3 separate regions of the Homo sapiens genome follow, and regions 1 and 3 are each linked to region 2. Evidence: promoter capture Hi-C in human tissues and cell types (Jung and others, 2019). All regions are on one chromosome and are shown on one strand. The core of a region is centred on a gene start or on the middle of the fragment in contact, and the rest is flanking DNA. Distances in the headings are between cores, read along the strand shown.

The links. Contacts are between HindIII fragments. The study calls those that stand out against the background at their distance.
Region 1: a fragment that was not itself captured here is called in contact with the fragment with the promoter of SLC7A14 in region 2 in 2 of the 25 tissues and cell types used here (H1 embryonic stem cells and pancreas).
Region 3: a fragment that was not itself captured here is called in contact with the fragment with the promoter of SLC7A14 in region 2 in 3 of the 25 tissues and cell types used here (mesenchymal stem cells, psoas muscle and thymus).

Annotation. Positions count from the first base shown.
Region 1 is chr3:170,768,846-170,772,215 of GRCh38, forward strand. It overlaps LOC105374211 (a long non-coding RNA gene), which reads left to right. Exons shown (of 3, transcript XR_924701.2): 1 at 1-80; 2 at 3,024-3,222. Among named protein-coding and RNA genes, the nearest start is that of RPL22L1, 100 kb to the right of the region's middle. The HindIII fragment of the contact is 5,790 bases long and covers 1-3,370 here.
Region 2 is chr3:170,583,911-170,587,361 of GRCh38, forward strand. SLC7A14 (solute carrier family 7 member 14) reads right to left here and starts at 2,165. Exons shown (of 8, transcript NM_020949.3): 1 at 2,001-2,165. The region is part of intron 2 of SLC7A14-AS1 (SLC7A14 antisense RNA 1); the gene reads left to right. RefSeq lists a silencer at 650-944. The HindIII fragment of the contact is 10,108 bases long and covers 1-3,085 here.
Region 3 is chr3:170,432,887-170,435,997 of GRCh38, forward strand. CLDN11 (claudin 11) reads left to right here. Exons shown (of 3, transcript NM_005602.6): 3 at 1-1,805. Among named protein-coding and RNA genes, the nearest start is that of MIR6828, 11 kb to the left of the region's middle. The HindIII fragment of the contact is 3,764 bases long and covers 1-3,111 here.

The DNA.
Region 1 (3,370 bases), core at 150-2,649, 180 kb after region 2:
AGAGGATGACTGTGAAATGGCCTACTTACAGGGTCTTGGTCCACATATTTATTGACAAAATAAGCCCACCAAAGTCTCAGGTGAGAGCATAAGTGAGCAACAGAGCTGAAATTGACGCCTTGCGCAAAGGTCCAAATCATTAGGACCATTTAGCCAAGTGTGCCTTTATTAGATCATGCCGTGTGACACATTCAGGAAATAAGCATTATCTCTGCCCCAGAAAAAAATACCTGCCATCTTCCTGGACAAAATGAAACCTCAAAGTTACAAGGTAGACACGAAGGAGGGAAAAATTCACCTCCCCTTACTCTTCTCCTTAGGTAGTGCTATTTATTTATTTACTTATTTTCTGTGATGGGGTCTCACTCTGTCACCCAGGCTGGAGTGCAGGGGCGCAATCTCGGCTTACTGCAACCTCCACCTCCCGGGTTCAAGTGATTCTCCTGTCTCAGCCTCCTGAGTAGCTGGGATTACAGGTATGTGCCACTACGCCCTGCTAATTTTTGTATTTTTAGTAGAGATGGGGTTTTGCCATATTGGCCAGGCTTGTCTCGAACTCCTGACCTCAAGTGATCCACCCGCCTCAGCCTCCCAAAGTGTTAGGATTATAGGCATGAGCCACTGCGCTGGGCCAGGCAGTGCTTTTTAAACTGTAGTGAGCATGTCTTCAAAATGCAGAGATTTAGGCCTCACTCCCAGAAGGAGGCAGGTCTAGGGGAGGGCAGGAGGCCTGGGCATGTGCATTTCTAACAAGCACTCTAGGACCATACTGCTCCGTCTCTACTGCTGCCACCAGTTGGCACCTAAAGGGTGCTGCTTATATTGAGGTGTCTCCCCTTCCAGATAAGGCTGGAACATTTAAGCAAGACTGTGCTAAAGGCCTTGTAATGAAAATTAAAAGTAAATAAGCACAGAATAGCTTACAACTAAATAATCTGGTTTACAAGAGGTAGTTTTCCCACCTTTAGTGTGGAGTGCACTGCAGGGAGTCTTCCCAGATGGACTCCAGGCTGTCCATGCAAGATGACATTTTTTACCACCCAGGTGGACATGCCCTCATGTATATGGAGACACCTTGAAATCCGGACCCAGCAGAGAAAAGCTTAGGAGGAGGTTAGAATTCCCTCCCTGGGCTGCCAAGCAGACCACCTTCTGATTTTCACTGTCCTGTCTGTGAAACTACTCATCTCTTTCCTCAGCAACTGATTCTAGAAAAATCTAAATTGGTCAGGGAAAAAGATACAATGCCCTAAATGCTCATGGTTTTACCTCATCCAGTACCATATCTGGATAAACCTCAATTCCAGAAACTAAAAATAGGAGGGAATTTGGGAGGGCTGGTGGTAGCCGGCGTCAGTTCCTCTCAACTCATTCCCAACTAGTCTTGGTGATTTGAGAGGCAGCAGCTTGTGAACTAGGCCAGGTTCGATACTTCAACTTAGGATGTGTTATTCAACCAGTAATTTTTGGAGCACCCGCTATGCCCTAGATCCCATGCTAGGCATTGTAAGTACCATAAAACAATGAACAACACAGACTGCCACCTCTGTCTTCCTGCCTCCCCCAAATCTGCCTCCCTCTGAAAGTGAGGCCTAAATCTCTGCATTTTGAGGACGTGCTCACTACAGTTTGAGAAACAGACTCTGCAGAGAAGACAACTAAAGCAAATCTATATTTCATTGGATGGTTAACAGGCCACATCTGGGCCCACAGAGCATGTTAAACATCGAGGCATTTCCAATAAAAATATAGATTTCTAATGTCTCTTTAAAAATAAGAAAAGATGGCAAAAGTAGGCTTGTAGTCCCAAATGGCAACACTTGCCTGGAGCTGAGACAATGACTGTCTATTTAGAAAAGGATGCACTCTACCATTTGCTACTCTCCTCTACTCTGAATTGTCTCATATAGAGTCAGTTTCACCTGTCTGATTTATCAGTCTTGCACCTGAACGTATTTGAGTTGAAGACTCTTGTGTAGAACTATATAGAAGAGGACCTAGTCTGGAGACATTAGGGATGAATGGGGATTTCCAGGCGATGAGGGGCAGGAAAGGGAGGGTGGGAATGTGAGGCAGCCGAAGCAGCAGATGGAAAGGCTCAGAGATGAGCCTCAGCACAAGGGGACAGGTGTGTTTAAGGAAGGTAAAATGTTGCTCACAGCCAGAGCTCTAAGCGGGAGGTAAGAGATGGAGCTGGAAAGGTTAGGCAAGGAATAAATCATATTTAAAATGTTGGACTTTGGCTGGATGTGGTGCCTCATGCTGTAATCCCAGCACTTTGAGAGGTCAAGGCGGACAAAGCACCTGAGATCAGGAGTTTGAGACCAACCTGGCAAACATGGCGAAACCCCATCTCTACTAAAAATCCAAAAAATTAGCCGGGCATGTTGGGGTGCACCGGTAGTCCCAGCTACTCAAGAGGCTGAGACAGGAGAATCGCTTGAACCCGGGATGCGGAGGTTGCAGTGAGCAGAGATCATACCACTGCACTCCAGTCTGGGCGACAGAGCGAAACTCCATCTCAAAAAAAGAAAAAGAAAAGCTGGACTTTATCCCAAGTTACTCAGAGCAAGACACTGAAGGGTTTCAGCTGGGATAATGACTCTCATCTGATTGGTATTGGAAGGCTACTCAGGCTGCTGTATGGAGAGTGGATTGGAGGAGGCAAGATTGACTTGAGAGCAGATATTTTAGGACATTCATGAGCAGCCTCCCTGTACAGAGGCCATTCAGGAATGCTGAAGGACTGTGCTGCATCTTTTCTTCCTGTGAGTCCCTACACCAAGTGTATAGCAGAATCCTGGACACAGAGCAGGTGCTCGAGGAAGGGTTCTGACTCAGACCTCAGGCAGAAACAATGGCAGAAACGTCTCAGTCCAGTGGTCATCTGTCTTTGCACAAAGAGGATGCTCAGGACTTGCATAGAAATGTTAAATTTTCTTCTTGATGCTATCGGAGGGGTAAATTTTAAAAAATAATTTAAAAAATGTAGCCATTCTAAAGCTAATGACCTTCTTTGCCAGCTGTTCAACTCATCTTTGATTTGAGGGAAAGCCATGTCTGTCTTAAGCATGACATTCCCGAGAGAGAGCTTCCAAGTCATCCTCAGATGTCCATCAAGTTTAAGGAAAAGGCATAAAAATACTGCAGGCTAATAAGAAGTGAAAGAGGCATACACAATGTGCAAATAAAGCAGAAAATGATACAGACATCTAGAATAAGGTAAGATTTTCTATATCTGGTAGTGGAGAGGGGAATATTTCCAAAGAAACTTTTTGTTTTTCAGCCTGCTACAACAGATTGGTCTGGAGGTGTAGATCCATTAAAGTAAAATTGATTTAGAGAGAGAAAATACTGTTCATTTCAAAAC
Region 2 (3,451 bases), core at 915-3,414:
GAAGAGCAGGCCTCCCTCCTTTGTCATTCTCCTGCTATAATCTCCAATAACAGCTATTCAGAGCCAAATACCAAAATGAAGGCATGAAAATGGCTTGGACTTTGAGTTAAATAGATCTGATTTTGAATCCAATCTCTGGAATCAAGTTTCTGTTTCCTTCTCTGTGTGATACTTTTGGTTGGCAGCTATTGTGAAGTTTAAATGAAATATTATTACCCAGCAGATAGAGGTGTTCAGTACAAATAGGCCTCCCCAAATTGGCTCAATCCTTTCCCCATCTTGCCCATAATATAAAAGACTAGCTAAAGAAACAAACATACAGGGCTGCTTAGCGATCTTTATCTAGAGCATGTAAATAACATGCAGTGGGGAAAGAAGGGTTCTAAGAAGAGGAAAAAGCTACAACCATGAAGCCCCTCCTTTGTGTAGCCTAACAATTCTCTGATTCCTGAAAGCCACAGAAATGTTTATTATCAAAACAGCATCCCTAACTGCCTTTCAACACTTTACCGACAGGAAGTCTCACTGCTCAGGTATAGGAAGTAGAACGAGGAAGCTCCCGAAGTTAGCAAAACTGGATCCTGAAGTGACACCCGCTTCCTGCTCTTCCACTCAGGAAAGCCGGGAACCTTTTCCCAAGCGGAGTCCTGGGGAAGCAGAAAACCGGGAAAGGCAAAGCCCCTTCTTCTCCTGTTTCTCTAGGTCGCTTGCTTAGAACCCTTTAGGGTTCTAACGCAGTTTCTGCTCGCAGGGAATGTGGGCCCTGGCGGTATTAGCACCCAGCCTCTGAGAACTTTCAGCACCGCGGACAGCGCCATTCCCTGCACTCAGTCGGAGGAGGAGAGCTACCTTGCCCCCAGCGCTCTCCTAGACCCTATACCTAGGGGGAGGCAGGGTGACATCCTGCGGCCCTTGGGCAATTCGGGCCAGTGACGTTCACCGACACTCAGGCGGGGATCCCTTCGCCAGAGCCAGTTCCTTTGAGTGTCTCCGCTCAAAATCTCAAGGAAACGAGCTTCACACAGGTGGGGGGATGAGGAGTGCCAGAACAGGAGCGAGCCCCGCTGCTCTAGCCTTCCTGCATCTCTTCTCGCCTTTGCTTTGCTCACTCTTCAATCGCAATATAAAATACTCATTTGGGGAGGGGGCAGGGTGACACAGGAGAGAGAAGGAGGGTGGGGGCTGCATCCCGCGTGGCCACGCAGCCCTAACCTGGCCCTCTTGGATTAGAGGGGAGCTGATGTGCTTTGGAATGGGAGAAGAGAGGAGACTGAGGGTTGAAGCAGTGCAGGAGAGCTCCCCTTGCTGGGGCTGCCGGCTCTGGGCAGGGAGCTTCCCTGGACACCGCTCCCGTCACGTCCTCTTCGCCGCTCCCGGGAGAGTCACCACTCTCCGGGGACAGACGCCCCTCGGGGCGCCACCATCCTGGTCGGGGTGCTGGGCTCGGCGGGAGTCCCTTTGAGGAGTTTGCTCCCAGGTAAAAGGGCAGACGTTGCTCCCGACCTCCCCGGAGTCTGCGGCCGGAAAAGCGTCTCCGTTTCATGGTCTCGGTCCGAGGCGGAGAACGGAGCTGCCCGTGCGGGGTGCGCGCCAAGGCGGGGGACAGGACGGGCCCGGCGTCTGCCGAGACCTAGGCTGCCCGCATTCCGCTCGCGGCTCCCCTTCTGCCTCCCGCTCTAGCGGCGCCGGAGCCGCGCTGGCCCCCGCCCCGCCCGGCAGCTCCCGCGAGTCAGAGCCCGGTGCCCCCAGACCGCGGGCAGTCGGGGCCTCATTCCGGGCCAGAGCAGGAAAGAGCCCGACCCACCTCCTCGGTTCTTCCAGGGAACCCCTTCTCGGAGGGCGCCCTGGGCCTCCGCGCCATATTCCTGGTCCCCCGCTCCCGGTGACTCCGGCTCCCTGGGTCATTCCGGGAGAGGCGGCCATCCCAGTTGCAGGGGTCCCGCTGGGGCGCGGGGGGCGCGGAGGGGGACAAACGGCAGCGAAGGGGGCCGTTCACTTACCGGGGTCGGGGCTGGAGGCGACGAGCTGGCTGCCAAGGCTGGTGGCTGGCAGTCCGCACTTACTGCGCGGAGCTGTCTCTCTAGCTGGGATGGGAAGTGGTGGTGGCGGCAAAGGAAGGCAGGAGGCAGCCGCTGCTGCTGAACAGCTCCTCAATTATTCAGATTGGGCCCCCACCCCCCGAACCCCTCCCCGTGCCTGCTCGTCCTCCCTCCAGCTCGCCTGTCTCCGCCTCCTTGGAGTCACATGGCCTGCCCAACCCCTTACATACTGGGCCCAAGCCTGGCACCAGACCACCTCCCACCTGGCCCCCCTGCCTTCCCCTCTGTCTGCCGCTCACAACTCCTCGCTGGCCTTCTGAGCCTCCAGTTGTGACCTCCAGTGTCTTATGTCAGGCTGCAGGGAGGTTGAGGGGGCCGTGGATGGGGGCAGTTCTTTGCCCTGGGAAAGCAGGGACCAGCAGGACTCTGCAATGTCTGTGCGTTGGGAAGGCATCTGCCGCAGCTCTGCCCCTGCTAGACTGGGCTGTCCAGACCTCCTTCCTGCCCTCTGGAAGCTTCCCTCATCCTCTGCGGAGCCTTCGTTGCTCTTAAACTTCCACATCCCTGAGCCCTACAGGAAAGAAAAAATGAGAGAGGTTGATTTCTCCTCTCCTCCTAAAGAAGACAAGACCCACCTCTGTCTTCAAAGCTTAAGTTTATCGTTGGGTTCACAACATCTTATGGGTGCAAAGATCATGGACTTGAGATTTGAAGAGCCATTAGGATTCCAATCTGTATGACCTTGGAGCATTTAACTTTCTAGCTTTTCTTCTCTCGTCTGTGAAATAACCACCTTGCAGTATTGTCATGAGATTGAGAAATCATCATGTTCTTAGAATTGCCTAGCCTAGAGTTGGACAGGTATTTGGAGCTCAATAAAGGAGAGTTCTTTTTCCCCCACCTTTGTTAAAATAAATTTCACAAGGCAAGAAGGATGTGATGTGTGCTAATACAGTGAAAGCATCTTTTAAACATGGAAGGAGGCATCTGTGAGGTCAGGCTAGACAAGTACCAGTCTAAACGGAGACAAGAGTGAGATAAGGTTTCTGTTTTGTATTAGCTCCTTTAAGATGAGTGTCCTAGAGCCAGGTTATGTCCCAAAAGGATTGGGACTAGATGGGACCAACCCAGGCATGCTTGGCCACATCACCGAATGAATTATTTAACAAGCATTGAGTAGACTGATTTGGATGAAAGTTATCTACATAAATTCTTGCACTTTGGCCCAAGCCCTCAAAACACATGGGAGGCAACAAAATGTAACTCTCCTATCCTTGGAAATGAATTCACTGGGCTTGTGTTTGGGGAGAATACTGGCTGACTGATACTCCTCTAGGGTGGAGCAGTTCAAATCTAGCTCTACTTTGTGGGTCTGCCCTGGGCTCTTCCCAGAAAGTTGCTTGATCATTGCC
Region 3 (3,111 bases), core at 320-2,819, 150 kb before region 2:
CTGGCATTTTGTAGTCTTAACTTCTCCCCATTTCCCCCATCTTTTGGTTGCCTTAAAAGAAATCTCTAGCTCAGATAATGCCCAGACATTTTTTTCCCTTGGTGTTGCCCCTATTAGCTCTTTTCTTGGGCATTCTTTTGCTGTTTATTAAAAATATATTATATATATTTTGTTTCTTTAAATTTCAAATGTTTTGCAAACATCACTGAGTTAGGTGGGGGTGGGGAAGAGAAATACAAGATACTTTTTTTTTTTTTTTTTTTTTTTTTTTTTTAAATAGGGCCTCACTCTGTTGCTCAGGCTGGAGTGCGGTGGTGTGATCTCGGCTCATGTAGCCTCAACCTCCCCGGCTCAAGTGATCCTCCTGCCTCAGCCTCCCAAGTAGCTGGGACTACAGGCGTTCACTACTACACCCAGCTAATTTTTAAGTTTTTTATAGAGATGAGGGCTCCCTATGTTGCCCAGGTTGGTCTCGAACTCCTGGACTCAAAGTATCCTCCCGCCTCGGCCTCCCAAAGTGTTGGGATTATAGGAGTGAGCCACCACACCGGCCAAGATGCTTTTCAAACTGATACAGATGACAATGGGAGCCTCATAAAGATGGCTTTTGTTTCTTCCCTTCAAGGTCATTTACTTGTACGAGACAGAAAAAGATAGCATTGGGGACATGGGATGGGGGAGGGAGGGCAATAGTGGAACGAACTTTCCATGGGAAACTTTCCCTTTTGTAAGTTGAGGGCCAGGGGTAGGGATATTTTTTAGTTTGTGATTTTACATTTATCTGTACATACTTTTTCAAGATTGATCATTTTTATAACCATGGTTTTCCTGAAATCCTCAATTCATCAATATGAAGGAAATGAACCACATAGACTTTATGCAATAAATAACAGTGCAAGTGAGTATAACTCTAACTGATGTTCCACAAAACATTTTTGATTTCAGGTTTGTATGATGTAGTTTTTAATCGTACATTTTCATATGCTTCAAACTAACACATTTTTAAAGCTTTCCCCCACTTTTCTCTCTATTTGTATTGTTAGCCATCTTGAAGTGATGTTGTTTAACATAAATTGTACTGTTGAATTTGGCTTTACGGGTGTAAACACTGATGGTATATCAGTATCTGAGACCCCAAACTCTCCAAATACTGATGGTGCATTTTATTCTTGAAGTGAAATCTGTGCAATAAAATAACAGACTGTCTGCAAAACTGGCCTTCAATCTTCTGTTGTATCCAGAGGTATCATTATTGATTTAAAAAAATCTCATTAATCTCTACTGGTAATTTATAGGGAATCTGATCAGTGATTCAAGAACAAGTAATTCTGCATTGCCTTGAATAATTAAAAAGTTATATTTTATTCACGGTATTGCAGTGGTAATTTGTGGTCATGAAAGCATAACCTCAGTGCTCTCTAGGTTTCTTAAGTGGGGTGACTTTATGGCATCTTTAATCATCGATCAATGGGCAGCAATCAGAAACAAAGTTCTCAGCATTATGCAGTTAATGTCCTTCATCTACTTCTAACACTTAGTAAAGGAATTGATTGGCTAGGTATAAAAAGAGAATTAACGAAACCTATTTTATTGGATCTTTAAGTAATAATATCTAAATACATTTCGTTCAAACATACATATGTAGCTGTTTGGACATTTTGGACAAAGACACATTGAGTTGATTTTTATTTGTTTTTCTGTTCCAGAAACTTCATCAAGTTACGGGCCTGGTCTAAGAAAACACATTGCAATCTATTTTGGCAGACTTCTTTCAAATAAAATACTAATTTCATTAGCTGATAGTATAGTAATTGGCAAACATTTCCTCTTTGGAAATACCAATTTGGGCTAGCCATTTTGCAGAAATTTGTGTAGTTTTGATTATAACCTGTTGGAGAGCATTTCTAAATTACTTATACATAAAAGATAATCTTTTTTTTGTTTGTTTTTTTGAGAAGAAGTCTCGGTCTGTTGCCCAGGCTGGAGAGCAGTGGTGCGATCTCGGCTCTCTGCAACCTCCGCCCCTTGGGTTCAAGCGATTCTTGTGCCTCAGCCTCCCAAGTAGCTGGGACTACAGGTATGTGCCACCACACCTGGCTAATTTTTGTATTTTTAGTGGAGACAGGGTTTTGCCATGTTGGCCGGGGTGGTCTGGAACTCCTGGCTTCAAGTGATCCTCCTGCATCAGCCTTCCGAAGTGTTGGAATTATAGGCGTGAGCCACCGTGCCTGGCCATAGAAGACAATTTTTATGTTAACTAAAATATTTGCTTAGCTATTATAATATAGCTTTTGTAAGGATAAAAGTCATGTGACTACATTGGAGGACTCTCCCTACCTCATTAAAAGTTGTCAAGGTATAACGATTATGAACCAGAAGGGAGCAAAAAGCGTTTGAGGGAGTGGACGAGGAGGCTTCAGACCCCATGATCCCTTTCCTCACAACCACCAGCTTGTGTCAGAAGTGTCATTAAGTGGGTCTCCTCTCTTATGGATGTATTGACTCGCCCGCTCCTTCCCTGAGCTGCTGCTTGTTTTCTCTCATAAGGGGGCTGCTGCATGAGCTCCACTTTTCCCTTCCGTGTAAGAAGAGAGACTCCCAAATCGCTCCTAGCTGACCATTCCCTGACTAATGAGGGAATCCCAATTTGGAGGTCATAACTCTAGTGTTAGGTTTAGTATCAGTTTGATGGAGGAGAGGTTGATGTGCCTCTAGAACAGTACTGTCCACTAGGAATACGATGTGAGCTGTTTAAAATTTTCCAGTAGCCACATTTCAAAAGCTAAAAATAAACAAGTGAAATTAATTTATTTTATTTGATCCAGTACATCCAAAATATTATCATTTCAATATGTAATCAATTGATGAGATATTTCACGCCCTTGTTTTTGTATTGTCTTTGGAAGAGCGTGTATTTTACACTTGCAGCACATTTCCATTTACACCAGCCACATTTCAAGTGTTCAGTAGCCACATGTGGCTGGAGGCTTTTGGATTGGACAGCACAACTGTGGAACAACAGGTTCTGTCTCAGTAACCATCGAGAGGATCAGTCTTGATTATCTTATCTGCTGTCATTAGAGTCCCCTGAGAACTTGGCAATTACAATTT